Regions from separate parts of the Homo sapiens genome. Here regions 2, 3 and 4 are each linked to region 1. The links are contacts of gene promoters, found by promoter capture Hi-C in blood cells and fetal thymus (Javierre and others, 2016). All regions are on one chromosome and are shown on one strand. Each heading gives the region's core, a stretch centred on a gene start or on the middle of the fragment in contact. The rest is flanking DNA. Distances are from core to core; before and after follow the strand shown.

Region 1 (2,700 bases), core at 191-2,690:
AGTCAGCTGAGATAGTGCCATTGCACTCTAGCCTGGATGTCAGAGTGAGACTCCGTCTCAAAATAAATAAATAAATAAATAAATAAATAAAGCTCTGAAAGTTCTAACTTAAATACTTGAATAATCTATACATGATAATCTTTTTACCTGTAATTTTTGTTTCCTAACTCTAAGCTAGCGTGTATATACAGTCCGTATTTACTTAGAACAATCTATGAAGATGTTCCTGAGACATCAACTAGGAATAGCAAATTAGACAAGGTAACTTAGGAAAATGCACCAAGTAATGTACTTACGTTCTGGTGCTACTACAGTTTGACAAATTGCATCATAATCTCCCTAATCTCTATATGTGGACGGCTACCATTTCCTAAGGGCAATGAGGCAGAAAGCAAGCAAGCAAATAACCCCTGCTCACAGCAGGAAAATGGGCGGCAGTGACAAAACCTACACTGATGTTTCCTATTCCAAGGCAACTCTTAACATTTGAGGTCAGGACAGCAAACCCAAAAAGCAGCAGATTGACAATCCTGAGTTTCAGTCCCACCTCCGCCGCTCCCTAAAAGCATGACTTGCAGAATGTTACATTAACTTTTGAGAACTCAGGTTCCTCATCTCTGAAACAAAAGGGTTTGATCGCTATATTATTTTTAAGGTCTCCACTAACATAGTACCCAGCCACGGTGCCACATACACACAATTTGGCTGTATCTGGTAAGCAGATTAAAAAGGAGAGTTGTTCTGATAACCTGCTGCAATTAAAGATTTAAGCCTCCAGGAAGTCGTGAGAGATGGCAATGAACACCAGTTGAAAGCTGCCAACACTGACAAGACCTTAGGGGAATTCCGAGGGCTATCTGTTGGAGCTGACTGGATCTAAACCATTCAAGAAGTGACCCCAGGGTTACCTGCCCACTGCATAAACTTAGGCCACTCAGGGATCAGAATTAGGATGAGAAAAAGGCAAATGGTATAAAAAGCCAGACTATACGGGACATGGGTGGCTTACACTTCCTCCAAGGTAGAGGCCTATGTGTGACCGGGATGGCCCTCGGCCCAGGCTTGGGGGTGTGGCATGTGTGACCGCCGGCCGTCACACAACCCGAAAGGACTCGCCACAGCCTGGGCCCAGCCCCGTCCCTCGCCTGCTGCAGGATGAGCGGCCACCTCGGAGCCCAGGGCCGGGCTGAGCCAGTGCAGAGGCGGGGCCAGGGGTGGTGCGGCCCAGGCGCCCGCCTCCGCCAGCCCAACACGGTTAAGCCGCGTACCGGACCCACTGAGCGGGACCTTCCGTGCCTCTGGCTCAACACGACCTCACCTACTCGGCCCTCACCTTGGCCAAGGAGCAGTACACACGACTCCAGCTCTGCATTTTTCCGCTGTATTTTCCTTTCCGCCAATACTTTCACCTCCGCTGGGCGCCTCCGCCGCTCCGCCAAGGTCTCCCCTCCCTGCGCATGCACAGGCGCAGCCTACGTCATCACCCGGGAGCAGCGCGATTGGCCCGCGCGGTTCTACCGCACGAGGCGTTCCTGTCAGGCTCGGCGTCGTACGCTGTCGTAAGGAGCGCAGGGCTTTGTCGCAGCGGGGGTGGTGGTGGGAATGCTTTAGGGGCTGGTGCCAAAATGTCGAGCTACAATGTATTCTTATACTTAGAAGATGAAATAAACAAATAAAACTAGCGTTTGCTTAATGCACATTATCGACAGTAAAGCGTGACAAGTTCAACAAGCTCTTGGTTGTGCTAGGCATTCCTCGGCACTTCCTACAGACATCTCATTTCATCCTTGCAACAACCATATGGAGTATTATTAGTATTTCCATTTCTTGGATGAGACCCAGAGAGGTTAAACAGTGCCCCCAAGGTCTCACAAAGGAGAGATAACTGCGGCCCTGAGGCCAAAACCTTTGGTATTATCTACTGCTTTATACTCGCTCCTCTCAAATGCCATATAAGGGATGGGGCTACAGATTTTGGCATCACCAGCATTCTGCTCTAATTAGCTAACTGACAATACGTAGAGAACACACTTTCTTCTATTTCTTTAGTTGAGAAACACATCTCCCTGGTAAAAAGAGAGTGGGATGGTGGATGAGATTTTAGGTTTTGAGAGAGAATCTGTTGAAAAGGGTTGAAAAACATTGTCTTCAAGATTGAGCACGAAAGTCTAAGGTCTCATTCTTGCCTTGCAATAAGTCTATATAGTGTGAATAAACTTAATTCTACATTTATTGGAAGTCTACCACCCAGGCCTTGTGCTGGGCTAAACACTGGTTAGAAATTACTGCCTATGTTCAGATTTAGATATGAATAATTAAATTTAGTGTTTGTTATAGAGACGGTATTGCTGGCAGCTCTGTCCTGTGACAGGGTCCCAGGCTCCTTTTATCTCGTGACTCTGCCATCATCAGAGCTTGCCTTGCATCTTTCATTCAAGATGGCTGCTCCAGTTTCTACAATCATATCCCCTCATTCCATCTGATTACAAAGCCACACCTAGCTGCAAGGGGATCTGTGAAACATAGTCCTGTCAGCTGAGTGCCTAACTGAAATTGTATTAATAAGCAAGATGAGATGAAGCGAAATTGGGGGACATTGAGCAGCCTCCACCACACAGATGGGGAGAATTGTCTCCTCTCCAGCTTCATGGCAGTCTTTGACATCTGGTCTAGGAGTTACTGCTCCATATGCACAAAATC
Region 2 (2,700 bases), core at 190-2,689, 260 kb before region 1:
CATACAACAGCATGCCAACAGTAATATATTATTCTCCAAGACTTTACCTATGTAAGTGTTCAAAACTCTGCAGCATTAAACAACGTGTATGCAAATTGTTATGGATACATTTCAGAATCTAAGAAATCAGGCAAGTGCTTAAAAGGCCAACGGTCCAAGGGATTACATCTGCAGTTTAAAAAGTAAATATATATTCTATCGTATTCATAAACAATATCTATCAAATGGGTTACCTCCAAATATGAAAATCTATAACAACCTATGGTTGAAGGAATGCTCAGTTTCATTTGCCAATAAATTGGTTTCTCATAACTTGCATCAAGTTTAATTTTAAGTAAAGCTTTTTATATGTAGATATTTTGTTGAATTTGTAAATACACTTAAAATGTAGATGCTATATGCTTATAGGTGTTACATACAAATAAACATGCAATGTTTATGTTGTACTGTATAAGAGGTAAGCTAATTAATGCAGTGAATGGGATTGGAAAGCATCTACTTAAATATCTATTGGGTTCCCCCCTCCCCCCACCTTTTTTGCTGTGAAACTGAAATAGTGAACTTTTCTACGTATTGACAGCAGATTTTTCGATGAAATCTTCAGAGCTTTGCCTATGGGGCACAGTAGGCCTAGTAACCTGGCATGTTTGATATATGTAGGTAAAGCATAATTTAAAGTAATCCCAGGTAAAGATGGCCCTAAATACTTTCATGTCTCTATATTCATTTTTCACAGATCCACCTGTCTCTTGAAAATATAAAAAGACAAAACAGGTTTGCCTTGGCATCAGAGAGCACAAAGATTAAAAGTTACTTTAAATTTGCCAATATTTTGGGAGAACAATAAAACTACATTTTTTCCTCTTCCATACTGGTAGATGCGAAATTTATCTGTGCATGAAAGGGTCACTTCTGTAATAGTGCAACAGATTTGGTATTAAAAATTAAATGTGGTTTTAAAAGTTCCTCTCTCTTTTGTAATTTATGTTCCCAATTGAGTGTGAATGTCCAAGTAATGGTGTATGTAATGGTACAGGCAAATGTGACTGGATTTCCCTCAAAAAAGTAACTATTAAACAGTCTTGATCTCTTTGTGACTTTTAACTTTTTCAAACATATATTGCCTAATGTTTTAAAATGGTGAAAAATTTTATTTTTTACTTTCAAAAGGCTGTTCTATGCAGAGAAAATTAAAACAAAATATAAAACAGATCTAATAGGACATATCAAAAACATTTGAATGAAAAACAGGACTAGATATTCCCAGCCTTTTGAGAAAAGTTCAAGAAATCAGGTGGTGCCTCCTTTCCCAAAGCCTGGCTCCTGGTGTCTGCCTGGGCCCGGCGCTTCTCTTCTGCTTGCCTGGACTCTGCCCTCCCGAATCACAGGCGACTTAGATTTCTTAACTCTCCTGTCTGAAGAGGGACACTACAGGTATCGAATGTATGTCACCCTCTCCCTTCTCTCCACCCCCATGCTTCTAATCTTCTCAAACCCTCTGGCAAACAGCCAAGCCCTGGCGTGTTCCCATGTTCCACCACCTGCCCCTTATTCTCCAGCCCCCTAGTCCCAGCATCACACTGACAAGACCTCCTGCTGGCTCAGAGCTGCCCTCCTCCATGGTGATTTGCATCACATGTTATATAAGTGAACCTTAAAGTGCTATGTAGAGCTTGGTGTTTCCACCTGGAGGGCATGTCTGTCACTCACTTCAGAACAGCACTTCAGGGCCTCTCCTCCCCTCTACAACGTCCGCCAAATTCACAGTCCATAGCTTTGTCCTCATCATCAGTCCTGGGGCTCTTTAGCAAAAAGGGTCTGGAGAAATGCAATCTTGACCCCAAAAAGCATTGGTCCATTGATGGTATGAACTTTCTTGTTCAGATGGCTTACAACAGGCCTGGTTTACCTCTAATGGCTGATTTTGTTTTGTTTTGAGACAGAGTCTCATTCTCTCACCCAGGCTGGAGAGCAGAGGCACTCACTGCAGCCTCTGCCTCCTGGGTTGGTTCAAGCAATTCTCGTGTCTCAGCCTCCCAAGTAACTGGGATTACAGGTGTGTGCCACCATGCCCGGCTAATTTTTGTATTTTTAGTAGAGACAGGGGTTTTGCCATGTTGGCCAGGCTGGTCTCAAACTCTTGACCTCAAGTGACCTACCCACCTTGGCCTCCCAAAGTGCTGGGATTAGAGGTATGAGCCACCGCGCCCCGCAATTTTGGAAAAGGCTTATGGAGGCAAGGGAAAAGAATATGAAGAATTCTTACCCAAATTAAGCAAATCCCTCCCGCTCAGGAAATTTTCCTACAGATTACCACCAGAGGGCTCCCCTGCTCTATGCAGTGTGAGAGAAACCTGCTTGCAGGAAAAAGTGGCCTCTGGACACAGTGCAAACCAGTTTTGATAATCAGCTTGTGATCTGATCATGCAAAAAATGATTGCCTGCTGCAACAGGGGAAAATGGGATTTGCAGCTTTCTCTGACGAGTCCACAGCATCCAGGGAGGAAGCATGTGTCCCTGTGAGCCTTGTTAAGCTTCTTCCTCTTAATGATTGTGGCCCGGGAGGTTCGGTATTGGGAGAGGAAGGAGGAGTGTGCCTCCTGGGTCCTACTAAGCATCCCTATCACGGCTGCAAGTCGGTAGGGATGAGGAGAGGCACGTCATTAAAATGGCATCTCCCTCTTCTCCAGAGTATGCTAT
Region 3 (2,700 bases), core at 105-2,604, 290 kb after region 1:
TTACCCAGTGTATCCTCAGATTTTGCAATGTAATTCATATAACTTAGCAAAAGCTATATGAACAGCTTCTAATATTTAGGGTCTACCAACAAAGTAAAGTTGGAATACAGCCAATTAATTAGATAATTCAAGCCAAAAAACTACCGCCCTAGATTACCTGGGTATTTGGAAGAGGTTTTTTATTTTTATTTTTAAATTCTTTTTACAATAAAAAGCTATCTTTTTCATTAAGCAAAAGAAATTCATTGTAGAAAATAATTTAAACTCTAGGAAAAAGTCATTTGTTGTACATGCTAAGGAAAACCACTATTAATAGTTTAGTGTTTTTTCCTAATTGAAAGTGTTTTAAAACTAGAGTTGTACAGTTTAATTTTTGTAACTCACTTGGCCATAAACATGAACCTGCCATAAGCTGATATCATTAGAAAAGTATTTACCATGAAGGATTGTAGTAAACATGCATATCTAGGTATGGAATAAGACAGTAGAAAAGAACACCAAGGCATTCAAAGTAATTATCTCCTTCGATCTTTTAGGGGCTACATCAATGGACCCCTCAACCATACAGCACAATCATTCACTGCACCTAGTGTGACACATCGACTTCAAACAGACCACTCTGCTTTTTGCTTTGCTCTTCTCACTCAGAACAGTAGTATCATTTCACTCATTTTTCTGCCATTCTATGTCCATCAACACATTTAGAGAATTGTGCTTGATTACATCTTTAACACCTGGAACATTCCTTGATTCAGTATGCATTTAGCACTCTCCACTCATGTTTTTGGTAGACTAGCCCATGTTTCACACTGGGGAGGAAATGAATCCCTTTATGGACATATGTTTGGTTTACCATCTGGACTACAAGCTCTTCTGAGAACAAACTGTTTTCTCTTGCTTTAATGTCCCTCTGTGGAGATTATAAAAGCTTCTCCTCAGGGTAGATATCGTTATGTTTGCTAGTACTGTGAATAATATATAAGGTATCTTTGAATTTCTGTCTTAATATCTTCCCTATAGCTATTCCTCCTGGTTACTGAAAGACACATAGTTTATGAGTATAGGCCTTGATAACAGATAAGAAGCTCACAAGAAAGGGAAACATCACAACTAAATGGGAATGTAACAGGGAACCAAACAGGATGCAATATCATCATTATATATTAGTCCAAGAAAAGTACTCTGATAGCAAGCAAACCCTTTTTTCTGTTTTGACAATAACATCAATATGTGAAGATAACACAGAGATGAACTAATAAATACTAATAAATCCTTTATTTACCTAACTAAAAGGATTGGTCATGAGTTTTATTTACTTTAAATAATTAAAATACTATTAATTATATATTGCCTACTGGCACAACCATCAAATAAACTATATTATTCTTTCTTAATGCAGTTTTTTTTTTCAGTTGATACAAGAAGGGACAAAGGTGTCAAAGAAACAGAAACTTCCAGACATGAAAACAAATAATATGTTTTTTTCTTATTTAAATCACAAAAGTGCATTAAAAGGCAACAAAGCAAAAAAAAAAAAACAACAACAACAACAACAACAAAATGACTAAAAACAGCAAACTGTTTTTAAGCATTAATAATTTTAAAATAAGCTGGGGGCTTTGATATAACTGTAAGTAAAAGATAACTAAGTTCACGTCCACAAAAATTTACAACTGTAAAACATGCTTAGGGTAAACTTAGAATTTATTTTTAGATGAATATATGGTTCATTTGTAAGAAACTGGAAATCATATGGTTTTAAACTTGTATACAAAGCTTATGTCTTATTCTTAACACTGAAGAGGCAGGAATTTAGGGTTTTGGGTATACAGATCAGCAATTCCCCTGTAATTTTCTATCTTGTCTTGATCTCCAATTTCTCTGGAAAAACACTTCAGCTATTTTTCACTATCTGGTCCCTATGTTAACTGGCAATAAAAAGTAAAAAAAACTTAACATCTTCAAGGGTATCAAAGTTGGTCTGCAAAAGGTAATTTTAGTTTTGTTCAACGTAAGTCAAGGTGATATGAAAGCATTTATCCAGGAAGAGAGTTGAATTATCATTATTTTAAGTAGGGGACTAAGGGTTCTGTTTCCTGGTCCAAATCTAGTATCTCTATTGCGTGCTGCTAATACTTAGGTACCCATAATAGGTCTTTACACTCAGTTTCTGATTGTTAGTATATGCTTTAAGAAATTTATTTAAAGTTTGCTTTATCCTCAAGAGGCACACTTTTTAAGGAAAGTGTTAATTATGCTCCACATTAAATGACTTTACAACGACTGAATTACTTGAAAAGTTCTTTTAAAAATTGCTGAGGCCCAGGCACAGCAGTTCATGCCTGTAATCCCAGCGTTTTTGGAGGCTGAGGAGGAAGGGCTTGAAGCCAGAAGTTCAAGACCAGACTAAGTAGCAAAGCGAGACCCTGTCTTTACAAAAAATCAAAAAAATTAGGCGGGCATGGTGGTGCACACATGTAGTCCCAGCTACTCAGGAGGCTGAGGCGGGAGGATCTCCTGAGTCCAGGAGTTCGAGGTTGCAGTAAGCCAAGACTGCACCACTGCACTCCCACCTGGGTGACAGTGAGACTCTGTCTCAAAAAAAAAAAAAAAAAAAAATTGCTGATGAAACAAAGAAGGAACAAAGGAAAGCAGGAACAAACAGAAGAAAGGCATGGTCAAGAAATTTCCCCCAATTAC
Region 4 (2,700 bases), core at 44-2,543, 420 kb after region 1:
TGAGAATCAGATTATATTATTTTCATGAAAAAAATTAATTACAGACCGGGTGCAGTGGCTCTCACCTGTAATCCCAGCACTTTGGGAGGCTGAGGCGGGTGGATCACTTGAGGTCAGGAGTTCGAGACCAGTCTGGCCAACATGGTGAAACCCTGTCTCTACAAAAAATACAAAAATTAGGCATGGTGGCACAAGCCTCTAGTCCAGCTCCTCGCGAGGTTGAGGAATGAGAATCGCTTGAACCTGGGTGGCAGAGATTGCAGTGAGCTGCGATTGCACCGCTACCCCTCCAGCCTGGGCAACAAGGTGAGACTAGGTCTCAAAAAAAAAATAATAATAATTTCAGATTATCAATTTATGAAGATCCTTGTTTCCGTAGTAACACTCACACTTGTGCATTTAATATATTTTGTGCAATTAATATAACCTTTATATACTAACCTAGGAGAGCAGTTTGACTTCCTAATAATAACTAAGCACTAGATATGATTCTAACCCCAAAATACAGCTCAATTAAAATCCTTTTTTAAAAGTCGTGCTTTTCTTTTTAGTTATAAATATTTTAATTGCATATCTGTTTTAATTCCTCCTATGGGAAGTCTCTAACTAATTTTATGTATTTGTTTTCTTAAATTTTGACAACCGTGACTATGACAGAGTAATTTATTGTATATTTACATTGTACTATTCATATCAAATCATTCTTACCCAGCTTGTGGCTAGTTCTGATGCCACAGTTTTGAAGATTCTCTGAGTTTGTAAATAAAAACTCAGCTTTGTGAAATATTGGAATTCACCATAACTGAAAGTACTTTGAAACAATTTTAAGGTATCTATGTACAAACAATTTTTAATTGCTGAAAATCAGTTTTAAGCTGTATTGCGACAAGGGTCCTTTTTCAGTGGATACTTAGCGTAGTAAACCTTGAACTCTCTCTGATACTGGAGCCCATAGAAAAAAGGTTTATTTTGCTTTAATGCCAATTCAGAGATTTTATTTGGCTTCTCAACTTTACATTTCTTTCACAACAAATACTTTATCAGAAAAATAGAAATGGACCATCTGCTGAACTTCCATCAAGTGGGGAGTAGCAGAAGTCGTAGAGAATCAACAACATTGGTGATTCATTTTCTATATGAGAATAACTGAATACTGATTATATTTGATAAAGCACATGCATCAGAATTGCATACACTTAACAGATAGAAAATCCAAAGCCATTCTTTCCCATCCTTCCCTACTTCACCTAAATTGGGCATTTACGTTTTTTTCATTTTTATTTTTCACACTGTGTTTGTAAGTCATTTGCCAGTATCACATACATTATAAAAGTAAATACATGGCATTTCTTGCCATTTTTCCATCCATACCTACACTTTGGATCCTGTGACTATTATTACAATTTATCCTCCCTCTGTTGCACAACTGTTGGCATGTCTACTTTGGGGCTTTGTCCAAATTATTACCTTCATGTCCAGTTTTCTGGTTTACTGTTTTGACTGCTTACTATCCCTCTTTGCCTTCCTAAATATTATGGATTTTATTGATGTTTTTCTCTTATATTTTCATCAAGGAACTACACAAATAGCCATGTTTGTGCTCCATCACCCCATTGATTTCTCTTTTCTCTTGCTTCCTTTTTTTCTTTGCATAATTCTCTTACTCTTAAGTTATGCAGAATCAAATTAATTTTGTGTCCTGAGGCCAAGTCCATTGATCAACTAGATTACATATTTAACAAAGCTGTGTCAAGTCCCCTGTTTTGTGCTGTTATGACTCTTATGCTGTGCTGGGGGACATAGCTGACTGTCTACAATCTAGTGCTCTGTTATTGATACTAGTTAGATACATAACATTTTTGTAAGAAGGCTGCCATTCTTTATATAAAGAGCCTGAGAATGGCAGAGTTTTACTATAGGCTGTAGTTCTACTATAAACTCAGTAACATCCACTATACTACTTGAGTCATCCATTTGGGAAAATGAATGCATTTTAAGAGTTTAATTAATAATTCTTAAAGACTGTAATCACTGGTGTCTTTCTGCCAGGTATATTCAGCAGTGTTTCTTCAGTTACTCCTACCTTCTGATCTCTGTTTAGGGGTGCAATATCTATAAAAAGTCCTGCTGTTATTTTGATTGGTATTGCAGAGAATCTGTAGATCAGTTTGGAAAGAAATGACATCTTAACAGTATTGAGTCTTCTAACTTATGAACATAGTATCTCTACTATTTTTAGGGCATTTTACATTTATTTCGTCAATATTTTGTAGTTCTTGGCCTACAGATCCTGCACATATTTTGTTAGATTTGTATTTAATTATTTCTTCAGTACTGTTGAAGTAGCACCTAATTTTTTAAAAAAATCCAATTGTTTATTGTTAGTATATGTAATTAGGATCATATTGAACTCATATCCTGCAACTTTACTAAATTCATATATTAGTCTTGGGAGTTTTTTGTGTGAATTCCATGGTATTTTCTATATAGACAATTGTCTGCAAATAGAGATAGTTTACTTTTTCCTGAAACATGTGAGACTTACTTATATTCTTGCCTTCTTGTACTGCCTAGGACCTCTGGTATTAGGTTGAATGGGAGTGTGTTGGGAGAAACAATCCCCATAAGCCCTGAATATCCCTGAACATTCTTGCCGGATATGCTGAGAATGCAAAGCCCTAACAGAACTACCCTTTACTC

Evidence for each region. Contacts are between HindIII fragments. The CHiCAGO score rates a contact against its expected background, and 5 or more counts as called.
Region 2: a contact is called between a fragment that was not itself captured here and the fragment with the promoter of DLD in region 1, in 2 of 17 cell types (M1 macrophages and M2 macrophages). The highest score is 6.8, in M1 macrophages.
Region 3: a contact is called between a fragment that was not itself captured here and the fragment with the promoter of DLD in region 1, in 1 of 17 cell types (erythroblasts). The highest score is 7.4, in erythroblasts.
Region 4: a fragment that was not itself captured here is called in contact with the fragment with the promoter of DLD in region 1 in 4 of 17 cell types (naive CD8 T cells, activated CD4 T cells, erythroblasts and 1 more); the score reaches 6.1 in naive CD8 T cells.

The regions. Positions count from the first base shown.
Region 1 is chr7:107,889,923-107,892,622 of GRCh38, reverse strand. DLD (dihydrolipoamide dehydrogenase) reads right to left here and starts at 1,440. Exons shown (of 14, transcript NM_000108.5): 1 at 1,334-1,440. The coding sequence starts at 1,372. RefSeq lists a silencer at 1,100-1,209 and enhancers at 1,270-1,509, 1,020-1,702, 1,660-1,739. The HindIII fragment of the contact is 5,175 bases long and covers 1-2,700 here.
Region 2 is chr7:108,146,041-108,148,740 of GRCh38, reverse strand. It overlaps NRCAM (neuronal cell adhesion molecule), which reads left to right. Exons shown (of 33, transcript NM_001037132.4): 33 at 1-1,092. Among named protein-coding and RNA genes, the nearest start is that of LAMB4, 17 kb to the right of the region's middle. The HindIII fragment of the contact is 2,194 bases long and covers 343-2,536 here.
Region 3 is chr7:107,603,524-107,606,223 of GRCh38, reverse strand. All of the region lies in intron 11 of DUS4L-BCAP29 (DUS4L-BCAP29 readthrough), which reads right to left. The region is part of intron 6 of BCAP29 (B cell receptor associated protein 29); the gene reads right to left. Among named protein-coding and RNA genes, the nearest start is that of BCAP29, 25 kb to the right of the region's middle. The HindIII fragment of the contact is 848 bases long and covers 931-1,778 here.
Region 4 is chr7:107,464,995-107,467,694 of GRCh38, reverse strand. The region is part of intron 6 of COG5 (component of oligomeric golgi complex 5); the gene reads left to right. Among named protein-coding and RNA genes, the nearest start is that of GPR22, 3.7 kb to the left of the region's middle. The HindIII fragment of the contact is 3,987 bases long and covers 1-2,700 here.